Regions from separate parts of the Homo sapiens genome. Here regions 2, 3 and 4 are each linked to region 1. Evidence: promoter capture Hi-C in 16 types of primary human blood cells and fetal thymus (Javierre and others, 2016). All regions are on one chromosome and are shown on one strand. The core of a region is centred on a gene start or on the middle of the fragment in contact, and the rest is flanking DNA. Distances in the headings are between cores, read along the strand shown.

Region 1 (2,954 bases), core at 165-2,664:
TTTTTCTATTTTCAATAGAGATGGGTTTTTGCCATGTTGGCCAGGCTGGTCTTGAACTCCTGGCCTCAAGTGATCTGCCTGCCTTGGCCTCCCACAGTGCAGATAGTACAGGCATGAGCCATCGTGTTCAGCTCCTTTTTGTATTTTAAGTTGTAGGAACTTATTCAGTTTGTCATTTACCTTGTAGTTTTGTTTTTATAGTTAAAGGGACTAGCTAAACAGCACAATGTAGGTAAATGAAAGATGGCTTCATAATCATCACACTCATGGTGTAATTTAAAAATCTTCTCCTTTGGTTCTTATTAATGCCTGCACTGTGAATCTGACAGATTGAAAATGGAAGCCCTGACTGACAGGGAACATGGAATGATAGACCCTGACAGCGGAGATGAAGCCCAGCTTAATGGAGGACATTCTGCAGAGGAATCTCTGGGTGAACCCACTCAAGCCACTGTGCCGGAAACCTGGTCTCTTCCTTTGAGTCAGAATAGTGCCAGTGAACTGCCTGCTAGCCAGCCCCAGCCCTTTTCAGCCCAAGGAGACATGGAAGAAAACATAATAATAGAAGACTACGAGAGTGATGGGACATAGAAGCCAGCCTGCTAATCAGATTGCTACTTCACAGCTTCATTTTTGTTTCATTCAGTGGTACTTCAGCAGAGTTAATATGCTTTTCTGATGAATTACACAACAGTTTGTTAATTCTTCATTCTTGTAGTATTTCATCACAAGAAACCTACTCTTCTGTCATCTTGAAGTAAATAGAAGATCAAGCCTTCAAATCTCTTAATTTTTTCGGTATTTATTAAATCTGTGAGTGGTTTAAGGAGCGGTCAGTGTGTATAAAGTGTGTTTGAACATTATGCCAAATATCAAGATGTGAAGGACTAATTCAGGATGCAAAAACGTTATTGGGGGGTTGTAAATATCAACTATTCAACAGTTTAGGATGCAATTACGAGTGTAAACTGTGTGCCTTATTTACACTTTATTGTCTCCCGCTTCTCAGATAGTTTTGATGTGTTGTACAGTGGAATATCTTAGATACTTTTTGGAAAGTATTTACATAAGTTATATCACAATTAAAATGTTGAATTTAATTTTGTTTCTCCTGTCTTTTAACATTATCTAGCACGCACTCGCTGCCATGGGTCCTTAAGCACAGTGCACCAATCTCCCTCCCCCAGTGTCAAACTTTTCAAAAGATAGGGAAGAGGATGGCAACGTTGCGATGAGAACTGTAAACTCTTTCCAAAAGAGCCCAGTGTGTGGTCATTGCCGCGACGTGCCGGCTGGTGGCACCGAGCAGCCTGGGCCCAGAGCGGTTGTCGGGCCGACAGATCCGGGCGGGGCAAAGCCGGGCGGGGAAAGCTGGGCTCGTCCCGTCCCGGCCCCGCCCCCACCCCGGGAGCCCGATACCGGTTTCAGAGTCCTGGGCAGCGTGCGCGCTCTTCCTGGCGGCTGCGCAGGTAAGTGGGACCGGGGTGGGGCCACGTGACCGGGAGAGGAGGGCCCGGCGGCCCCCGGCCCAGGTGTGCTGCGACGGACGGCTGCCCGCGCTCGGCGCTCAGCCTGCCATAGCCCGCGGGGGAGGCCGGAGCCAGGGATCCGGGGAGGCCCGCGTCCCGCCAGGTTTCGCTCTGCGGACGCAGGTGCGGCCGAGCCGCCGTCCTTCCGGGCGCGGGGCGGGGCGCGCACCTCGGGGCGATCTCGGTGCTCCTTACCTGGGAGGTCTCCCGGCTTAGTTTCGGCCTCGTTGGGTCGGAATCTCCAAAGACAGTGGGTTTCAGCCAGAAACGCGAAGACGAACGCCTAGCCGGCGCGGGCAGAACCGAGGACACAATGAGATTTGTGGGACCGGGCGCCCAGAGGCTGGCGCGGGGGAGACCCCACAGCTAAAATGCTCGGTACCCCCGGGCAGTCGTGGGTTAGTTAGAACCGCAGAGCCTTTCCCGACCCCTCGGAAGCGCAGAAGTATCCGAAATCTACCCGTTTCTTGGGTCCAGCAAAACTTTTAAGCCAGGTAAACCGGTGGTTCTGTTTGTGTAAAGGTGACCAGGCATGATTCCTGTGACACTTTGCTGGGGCAGCCATTTCTCCTGCCATTGCCGCGGCTTTCCAAGATGAGTGTCCAAGAGTGGAGTAAGGGTCCGGGGCCTGAGCAGGACAAAGACACACGCTGCCGCGACCTGCGGGACCAGAACGAACTCTCAGTGACATCTTGAAAGACATTAGGGGTATCCAGATATTTAAGATGTAATGAAATACAGCTAACCATTCCCTTCTAAAAATCACATTATCTTGCTTTTCCACAACTCTTTAATAATTGCTTGTTTTTTCTTTAAAAATGGATAGGGTGGTTTGATTCAAATAAGCCACTTCACAGGTGAAGAGTTAAATCCATTACAGTGAATCGTATTTTTACCAGTGAGTTGAATTAAGCATAGCGTATCCTGTAAATGCTGTGTAAAACTTGCTAAAATCATTTGTTGTGCTTTTGCTTCTACATTTCTTAGGAATGTGTTTCAAAAACTAGAGTCGTAATAGCATTTCTAGAACTTACACTTTTTTAGAGAAAGAAAGAGAAAGGTACAAAAATAACTGATTGTTATAATATACAGAGCCGCTTTGCATTGGGCACCCTGCTGGGGCCATCACAGTTAATCCTCTAAGGTCGGAGTGCCCTATTAGAAGACCCTGGGTTTCCACCGCATTCCCTTGTCTCCAGTCTGTACATACCCTGTGTGCCTTGCTTGCCCTCTTAACGTCTCTACCTGGATTTTTAACGCATCTGAAACACTCTTCAGTCTGCTGCTCCCCAAGGCTAAGCTGGAGGGGTGGAGAATGAGGTATAGATAGATAAAATGATCAGATGTCTGGGGTTTACTTCAGAGGACTCTATTGGCAGAGGAAATAGTATGGGGAGTATAAATGAAACAAGTTTGGCCATAAAT
Region 2 (2,954 bases), core at 234-2,733, 210 kb before region 1:
GTAGCTGGGATTACAGACACACACCATCACACCTGGCTAATTTTTGTATTTTTAGTAGAGATGGGGTTTTGCCATGTTGGCCAGGCTAGTCTCGAGCTTCTGACTTCAAGGGATCCACTGTACCTGACCTTTTTTTTTTTTTTAAATAGAGATGTGGTCTTGCTATATTGCCCAGGTCTCAAAACTCCTGAGCTCAAGCAATCCTCCTGCCTCAGCCTCCAAAAGTGCTGGGATTACAGGCATGAGCCACTGAACCAGGCCCCGAATCAGCATATCTGAAGGTCAGGAACTAGGAATCCTTACTTAACGAACCTCCCAGATGACTGTGGCACTCTGAAGTATGAGAGCCACTGCTCTGCGCAGTCTTATTCCATACTGTTTTGCTCCAGCCATACCAAACTACTTGATCTAGGCAATTACTTCATATCCTTATTCCACCCTGTGCATAACTCTGGTTCATATTTGTTACTGCGCTATAGTATGATTGTGGATTTATTTTTCTCCACTAGATTCTTTCCTCTTTGAAAACAGATACTGTGTTTTATTTTATTTTACATTCCTGGCACCTGGCATAGTTCTTGAAAGCATGTAGTAAGTACTCAAAAATATTTGTTAAAGAAGTAAAAAAGCAGTTTGTTCCTTGAAACTATTCTGTATGCTGCAATAATGGTGGATGCATGTAATTATACATATGTCAAAACCCAAAGAATGGGTGGGGCCTCAGTAGCTCATGTCTATAATCCTACCATTTTGGGAGGCTGAAGAGGGAGGATTGCTTCAACCCTGGAGTTCCAGACCAGTCTGGGCAACATAGGGAGACCCCGTCTCTACAAAAAATGTAAAAATTAGTGGGACATGGTAGTGTATGCCTATAATCCCAGCTGCTTCTGAGGCTGAGGCAGGATGATCGCTTGAGCCCAGGAGGTGAGGTTGCAGGAAGCTGTGATTGTGCCAGTGCACTCCAGCCTGGGTGGCAGAGCGAGACCCTGTCACAGAAAACAAACCCGTAGGCTATACACAAGCAAGAGTGAACCTTGATGTAAAATCCGGACTTTGGGTAACAATGATGTGTCGATATAGGTTTGTTGATTGTAACAAATGTGCCACTTTGGTGTAGGGGATGTTGATAATGGGAGAGGCTATGCATGTGTCAGGGGTAGGGTGTATATGAGAAATCTCTGTACCTTCCACTCGGTTTTGCTGTGAAACTAAAATTGCTCTAAAAAATACATTCAAAACAAAAGCAGCTTGTTAAAATTGCTCTAAAAAATACATTCAAAATAAAAACTAAAATTGCTCTAAAAAATAAATTCAAAACAAAAGCAGCTTGTTAGGAAGTTATTAGGGTGTTTCCTCTCTAAATATGAAATTTTTAGAAATGTTCCCACATTTTTAAATTTGGTATTCTTCAATGTCTGTGACCAAACATTTTTCTAGGGAAATGCATATCTAGTTTTAACAGAAATTTAGTTTACATCAAACTTTTCCAGATTTATTTTGTTAAACTGACTTTTTATCCAAGTGTACGGTGGATTTAATGAAAGTAAGTTTTCACTCATTGATTCCTTCATTAATGACAGCTATTATTTTTAATTAAGTTACAAATAACCTTAATAAATCATCTTTTTGTTTCCTTTTCAGTGTGCTCATGGATAACATGAAACACCTATTAGAGCTAAATAAATTAATAATGAAATCACAGCAGGTAAACTTACACATTAGGCTGATTATGCATTCTCATGATTTTACTCTCAACTTCTTGCTGGTAACTGTATTGTATATGATTAAATAGATTGTCCAAAGGGAATGCTATGATTGGAATTCGCTGTCCTTGAGTTCTCTCTTTTTTTCAAAATTCTATTATTTCTGACTAATGTTGAACATTATCTACTTATAATTTAAGTTACTGTCTTCCTTTTGCTGTCTGGAAATAGAGGAATTGAAAACTGGAACTTTAGATAACTAAGGCTAGTAGATAAACTCAGTGATTTAAGTATTACAGGTTTGTCCTTACATACAGTAATGTGCTTTAACTTTTTTATTTTTAATAACAGGAATCTTGGGATTTAGAGGAAAAACTGCTTGATATTAGAAAGAAGAGATTGCGTATGTAGAACACTTTTTTTTTGGCAGAACACATTTTGCTTACTTTATAGATTGATAAGGCCAGATCTCTTAGCCACTGAGAAATTTCCTAATTTCCGACTTCCAAAATTCCTTAAAATTTTTGACATGGCAACTTAAAAAGTGATATAAAGTACATTTTGTTCTGTTTATTCTCATTGTTTTAGAACTTTATTTTCGTTTTTTGTTTGCTTTTTCTGAGACAGTCTTGCTCTATCACCCAGGTGGAATGCAGTGACTTGATCTTGGCTCACTGCAACCTCTGCCTCCCAAATTCAAGTGATTCTCCTGCATCAGCCTCCTGAATAGCTGGAACTACAGGCACCCACCACCATGCCTGGCTAATTTTTGTATTTTTATGTTAAAAAAAATTTTTTAATATGGTATTTTTTTTTGGAGACAGAATCTCACTCTGTCGCCCATGCTGGAGTGCAGTGGCACGATCTCGGCTCACTGCATCCTCCGCCTCCTGGGTTTGAGCAATTCTTGTGCCTCAGCCTCCAGAGTAGCTGAGATTACAGGCATGTCCTATCACACCTGGCTAGTTTTCGTATTTTTTTAGTAGAGATGGGATTTCACCATGTTGGCCAGGCTGGTCTTGAACTCCCGACCTCAGATGATCCACCTGCCTCGGCCTCTCAAAGTGCTGGTTATAGGCATGAGCCACTGCACCTGGCCAAATTGTTGTATTTTTAGTAGGGACGGGATTTCACCTTGTTGGTCAGGCTGGTCTCAAACTCCTGACCTCAAGTGATCCGTCTGCCTTGGCCTCCCAAAGTGCTGGGATTACAGGCGTGAGCCACAGTGCTGTGCCTCATTAGTTTAGAACT
Region 3 (2,954 bases), core at 323-2,822, 160 kb before region 1:
CCGCCAGTCTTTTCTTGATTACTGACAGTTTTCTAAAAAGCAGTGAGAGAATGTTCTTTACCCAGGTAATTTATTTTGTGTAAGACTAAACCTGTTAATGTAATTTGTTATGTTTATTCAGAGTAACAACATTTTAACCATCACAATTTGTAATTTTGCTTTTTGAAAAATGTGGTGTCTAAGAGCATATTATTGGGCTTATTACCAACTCTACAGCATGTTATTTTCTGTATCTTTCCTCCCAAGTAGCCTAATTTGAAGTTACGTATTTATTTTTAATCAGGGTACCCTTAGTTATTTGGTCCACATTGAACCTTGAAAAGGTAAAATAGATTTTTCTTAATTTTATTATTTGAATGTGTAGTTCAGAAACTTAAGGGACAAGGGTAGGTATTTGATTCTCTCTTATATTGTTAATTTTATCTTTCTGATCATGATTCCTACTCTCTTTTTGCCTAGTAGGTACATATTGGTTGCTAATTGTTTTTTTTTCTGTGGCGAAGTATTTGAAGTATTTACACATTATTCATTGATTCTAAATAATTTAACACATTTTTAATATATTTGGGTTTTTTTCCGTTTCTACCAGATCAAACTTGGACATAGATCAGAAGCTAAAGATGGTAAGTATTTCATGTAATCTGACAGATAGGAAAAGTTTTCTCCTTTTTTTTTTTTTTTTTTTTTTTTTTTTTTAAAAAGACAGGGTCTTGCTCTGTCACCCAGGCTGGAGTACTGAGACACAATCGTAGCTCACTGCAGCCTCAAACTTAGGTACTCAAGCAGTTCTCCCACCTCAGCCTCTTGAGTAGCTAGGGCTGTAAACATGTGCCACCACTTGTGGTTAATGTTTTATTTTTTGTAGAGATGAGGTCTGGCTGTGTTGCTCAGGCTTCTCTCAAACTCCTGGCCTCAAGCTATCCTCCCACCTCGGCCTCCCAAAGTGCTGGGATTACAGGCTTGAGCCACCATGCCCAGCATAAAGTTTTCATTCTCACTGAAGAAACGAGCAAAGTATGAATTAATAAGTTAGTAATGGTTCTGGATAGAGTTACTGCAGGGTCCCCGAAGAGTAAAGATAGACTCAGCATAGAGAAGGAGTATTTGGTGATTTTTACTTACTGGATATTCAGAGAAACATTCCAAATCACCCACATAAATGGAAGGCAGCAAGCTTAATTAGTTTGTCTTTCTGTCTTCATTACTGTTTTAGGTGTTACAAGCCATTGTTTTTTCTGTTTCTGAGTTTCTAATTACTTTGAAAATTCAGGATACATTTTCATGAAAGTACATAAAGCTTACTATGGAATAGATACATGAGGAAATTATTTCATTAAACTTTCTTCCAAAGTCTTATTTATTAGGATTCATCATAAAATAGCTCTTACAAAAGAGACCCATTGTCTGTGTAAGTGCCAATACTATATCTTATTTTTATTTTGTTTATTTTTTTTGAGACAGAGTCATGCTCTGTTGCCCAGGCTGGAGTGCAGTATCGCAATCTCGGCTCACTGCAACCTCTACCTCCCGGGTTCAAGCGATTCTCCTGCCTCAGCTTCCTGAGTAGCTAGGATTACAGGTGCACACCACCATGCCCAGCCAATTTTTTGTATTTTTAGTAGAGATGGGGTTTTGCCACCTTGGCCAGGCTGGTCTCGATCTCCTGGCCTCAAGTGATCTGCCCACCTAGGCCTCCCAAAGTGCTGGGATTACGAGCCACCGCGCCCGGCCTGTATCTAATTTTTAATTTTGAAATCTGTCATTTGTATTGGAAAATATACTATCTTATCACTAGTTTGCTTTTAGCACAAACAATATGCCACTAATATTTGTAGGGCAAGAGTAGGGAAGCTTATCACCTATATGCTGCACACTTATATATGTTGTTAGTCTAGTAGTGGTGTTCAGATCCTGGTATAGATAAGGTGAAATATTTTTCACCATTTGTCGTAGTCTTTGTTAAGCTATTTTAAAAGTAAAGCAATATTGGCCTGGTGCCATGGCTTACGCCTGTAATCCCAGCACTTTGGGAGGGTGAGGTGGGTAGATCGCCTGAGCTCAGGAGTTCGAAACCAGCCTGGCCAATATGGCAAAACCCCATCTCTAACGAAAATACAAAAAATTAGCCAGGCGTGGAGGTGCACACCTGTGGTCCCAGCTACTCGGGAGGCTGAGGTGGGAAAATTACTTGAGTCTGGGAGGTGGAGGCTGCTGTGAGCCGAGATCATGCCACTGCACTCCAACCTGGCTGACAGGGTGAAACCCCATCTCAAAAAAAATAAATAAATAAAAATAAAGCAATGTAAAAGAACAACAGATTTGACATAAAAATTGTCAAAGTAGCCCTTATTTTTGTGGGTAATGTTCACTATTTTCTGAGATTACTAACCTTTCTTTAAAAATATGTGTTTGTGGCTGGGTGTGGTGGCTCACGCCTGTAATCCCAGCACTTCAGGAGGCCAAAGCGGGTGGATCACGAGGTCAGGAGTTGGAGACCAGCCTGATGAACATGGTGAAACCCCGCCTTTACTAAAAATACAAAAATTAGCCGGGCGTGGTGGCGCGTGCCTGTAATCCCTGCTACTCTGGAGGCTGAGGCAGGAGAATTGCTTGAACCCGGGAAGCAGAGGTTGCAGTGAGCCGAGATCACGCCACTACACTCTAGCCTGGGCGACAGAGCGAGACTCCATCTCAAAAAAAAAAAAAAAAAAGAAGTGTTTGTAAGGTTTGAGATTTCAGAATTATTCACTTTTTGCTTTGCCTTTTTATATAGGTATAAATAGAACCGCCTTAAGAGAGATAAAATTATTACAGGAGCTAAGTCATCCAAATATAATTGGTGTGAGTATGATCAAAACTGTTACTGGGATTTGGGACTCTGCCTTTTCTTAATATAATGGATGTTGATTAAAGGCTCAGCAAGATGACTTGTTCTGGATGAGCCTTGTAGAAGC
Region 4 (2,954 bases), core at 134-2,633, 130 kb before region 1:
GAGTTCTATAGTTTGGATCTATTTGAGAGTGCTGGATTGAACAAATGCAGCCCACAGAATTTAAAATGCAGACACTTGAATGTATAGGATCACCCAAAACAGAGAATTCTGAAGTCTTACGCCAGGGGTTGTTGAAAGGGAAATTCTCTTTTATAGGATTTTTTTCTTTATTCTCGTTTGAAGCAGTGTCTTTGTCTTCCAATGCCCGAGCAAGCATGTAGCTAACTTTTCTTTGATGAGCCAAAGCTTCTTCTTTATCATTAAGCTGCATGCACAGAAATTAAACATGTACAAGTTAGTCAATAAATCACAGAATATATTCAGAGAAAGGAGTATTGTACTATTTTATCAAGTTATTCAACCCTAATATTCATACTGATCTGTCCATCAGTATGAATAAATTAGGTATCACCTGATCCCCAAACATTATACTACATGTTATTCATGAATCTTTTTTTTTTTTTTTTTGAGACGGAGTCTGGCTCTGTCACCCAGGCTGGAGTGCAGTGGCACTATCTCCACTCACTGCAAGCTCTGCCTCCCAGGTTCACACTATTCTCCTGCCTCAGCCTCCCAAGTAGCTGGGACCACAGGTGCCCGCCACCACACCCAGCTAATTTTTTGCATTTTTTAGTAGAGACGGGGTTTCACTGTGTTTGCCAGGATGGTCTGAATCTCCTGACCTTGTGATCAGCCCACCTTGGCCTCCCAAAGTGCTGGGATTACAGGCGTGAGCCACCGTGCCCGGCCAATTCTTTTTTTTTTTAAGACAGGGTCTGGCTCTGTTGCCCAGGCTGGAATGCAGTGATGCCATCTTGGCTCACTGCAGCCTCTGCCTCCCAGGCTCAAGTGATTCTTGGGCCTCACCCTCCCGAGTAGAGTAGCTGGGACTATAGGCGTGCACCACCACACCTTGCTAATTTTTGTAGGCTGGTCTCGAACTCCTGGCCTCAAGTGATCCACTCGCCTCGGCCTCCCAAAGTGCTGGAATTACAGATGTGTGCCACCATGCCAGGCTGACAATTTTTTTTTTTTTTTGAGACAGAGTCTCGCTCTGTCACCCAGGTTGGAGTGCAGTTGCATGATCTTGGCTCACTGCAAGCTCCGCTCTCCTGGGTTCACACCATTCTCCTGTCTCAGCCTCCCATGTAGCTAGGGACTACAGGTGCCAGCCACCACACCTGGCTAATTTTTTGTATTTTTAGTAGAGACAGTTTCACCGTGTTAGTCAGGATGGTCTCGATCTCCTGACCTCATGATCCACCCGCCTCGGCTTCCCAAAGTGCTGGGATTACAGGCATGAGCCACTGTGCCCAGCCCCGACGATTATTTTTTAAAAATAATTTTTTAAAAAAAAAAACAGAAGACAGCATTGAAAATTTTGCAAGTCATCTGGAAATGAAGGGAAAATATAGATCTATATGAAGTGTGTATATATAGGTATATAATATCAACATATAAAAAATATATCAACGTGCATATTTATAAAATAATGTTGAAGTTATTTGTATATAAAATTGCTTTCATATATTTGTATGCAAATATATAACAGTCTAGAGATAAGTATGTTCATATAACCTGAGTCTCAGTGTCTTAGTTTAGTCATTCCATGTGGAATGTGGGTAGCAGGACTGTAAAGGATATAATGTGTGAGGAAATGCCTTGAACACTTTAAAAATGCCTCAATAAACAGGCAGACTTGTCACAAACTGTATATATATAAATGTAGATGGCAAAGCTGGCTGGAGTTAACTACAGGAGCCCCCTGTTTTCCAAGATGGAGCCTTTAAACCTGCACAGAAAGAATATGAATGACGAGAAAAGATGAGCTGAGGGAGATAAAGATCATGAAGGTAGAGTCTGGTACTCCAACTGGGAAAAGGACATAGAAGGCAAGTGCAAGTCTAGAGAGATAAAGAGTTGAATTAACAGGAAGCAAATAGATTAGCTTAACCTAGGGGTGTCCAATCTTTTGGCTTCCCTGGGCCACACTGGAAGAAGAAGAATTGTCTTGGGCCACACATAAAATACACTAACACTGGCTGGGCATGGTGGGTCACGCCTGTAATCCCAGCACTTTGGGATGCCGAGGTGGGCAGATCACTTGAGGTCAGGAGTTTGAGACCAGCCTGGCCAACATGGTGAAATCCTGTCTCTACTAAAAACGCACACACAAAATTAGCCAGGCGTGGTGGTGGGCGCCTGCAGTCCCAGCTACTCTAGAGGCTGAGGCAGGAGAATTGCTTGAACCCGGGAGGTGGAGGTTGCAGTGAGCCGAGATCGCGCCGCTGCACTCCAGCCTGGGTGACAGAGACTCTGTCTCAAAAACCAAACAAACAAAAAAACCAAAAAACAAACAAAACAAAAAAATACACTAACACTAATGATAGCTGATGAACTAAAAAAATATATATATATATCAAAAAGATCTCATAATGTTTTAAGAAAGTTTACGAATTTGTGTTGGGCCACATTCAAAGCTGTTCTGGGCTGCATGCTCCCCACGGACCGTGGGTTGGACAAGCTTGGCTTAACCATAACCTGCAAAAAAAAGCAAAGACACTAACCAAATCTATGAGCATCTTAAGGACCTCTTGAGGACTGTCCTGGTCTTCCATCCTCTTAGAACTGTTTTCTGAAGGGAGCATACCCAACAGTCTCTGCCCGAAGGTCTTCTTACTCCTTGGTGATGGAAATCCTAAAATTGAACATGAGAATCCAGCTGAGACATTAAAATATCCTCACTGATATACTTCCAGCAAAAGAGGTAACTTGATCTCTAGGACAAGTGAGTCCAGGAGCACACAGTGGAATGTAGTGAGCAGAGCACAGCCTTCAGAGCCAGGAGCAATGCAGGTGAGAGGCAGCAAGAGTGCCGCCCTGCCATGCGGCACAGCCACCCCTCTGTGCCAGCTGACACACAGGCCACACAAGAACACAGTCCATGTCACTGG

The links. Contacts are between HindIII fragments. The CHiCAGO score rates a contact against its expected background, and 5 or more counts as called.
Region 2: a contact is called between a fragment that was not itself captured here and the fragment with the promoter of MARVELD2 in region 1, in 2 of 17 cell types (neutrophils and erythroblasts). The highest score is 8.4, in neutrophils.
Region 3: a fragment that was not itself captured here is called in contact with the fragment with the promoter of MARVELD2 in region 1 in 8 of 17 cell types (erythroblasts, neutrophils, total B cells and 5 more); the score reaches 7.6 in erythroblasts.
Region 4: a fragment that was not itself captured here is called in contact with the fragment with the promoter of MARVELD2 in region 1 in 1 of 17 cell types (neutrophils); the score reaches 7.3 in neutrophils.

Annotation. Positions count from the first base shown.
Region 1 is chr5:69,413,702-69,416,655 of GRCh38, forward strand. MARVELD2 (MARVEL domain containing 2) reads left to right here and starts at 1,415. Exons shown (of 7, transcript NM_001038603.3): 1 at 1,415-1,469. It overlaps RAD17 (RAD17 checkpoint clamp loader component), which reads left to right. Exons shown (of 19, transcript NM_133338.3): 19 at 330-1,100. The coding sequence ends at 591. RefSeq lists enhancers at 1,192-2,075, 2,076-2,954. The HindIII fragment of the contact is 19,290 bases long and covers 1-2,954 here.
Region 2 is chr5:69,200,865-69,203,818 of GRCh38, forward strand. CENPH (centromere protein H) reads left to right here. Exons shown (of 9, transcript NM_022909.4): 6 at 1,642-1,705; 7 at 2,055-2,106. Among named protein-coding and RNA genes, the nearest start is that of CENPH, 13 kb to the left of the region's middle. The HindIII fragment of the contact is 3,881 bases long and covers 1-2,954 here.
Region 3 is chr5:69,251,829-69,254,782 of GRCh38, forward strand. It overlaps CDK7 (cyclin dependent kinase 7), which reads left to right. Exons shown (of 12, transcript NM_001799.4): 3 at 590-623; 4 at 2,774-2,841. Among named protein-coding and RNA genes, the nearest start is that of CDK7, 18 kb to the left of the region's middle. The HindIII fragment of the contact is 554 bases long and covers 1,296-1,849 here.
Region 4 is chr5:69,282,770-69,285,723 of GRCh38, forward strand. CCDC125 (coiled-coil domain containing 125) reads right to left here. Exons shown (of 12, transcript NM_176816.5): 11 at 2,568-2,698; 12 at 1-265. Among named protein-coding and RNA genes, the nearest start is that of CCDC125, 49 kb to the right of the region's middle. The HindIII fragment of the contact is 2,278 bases long and covers 245-2,522 here.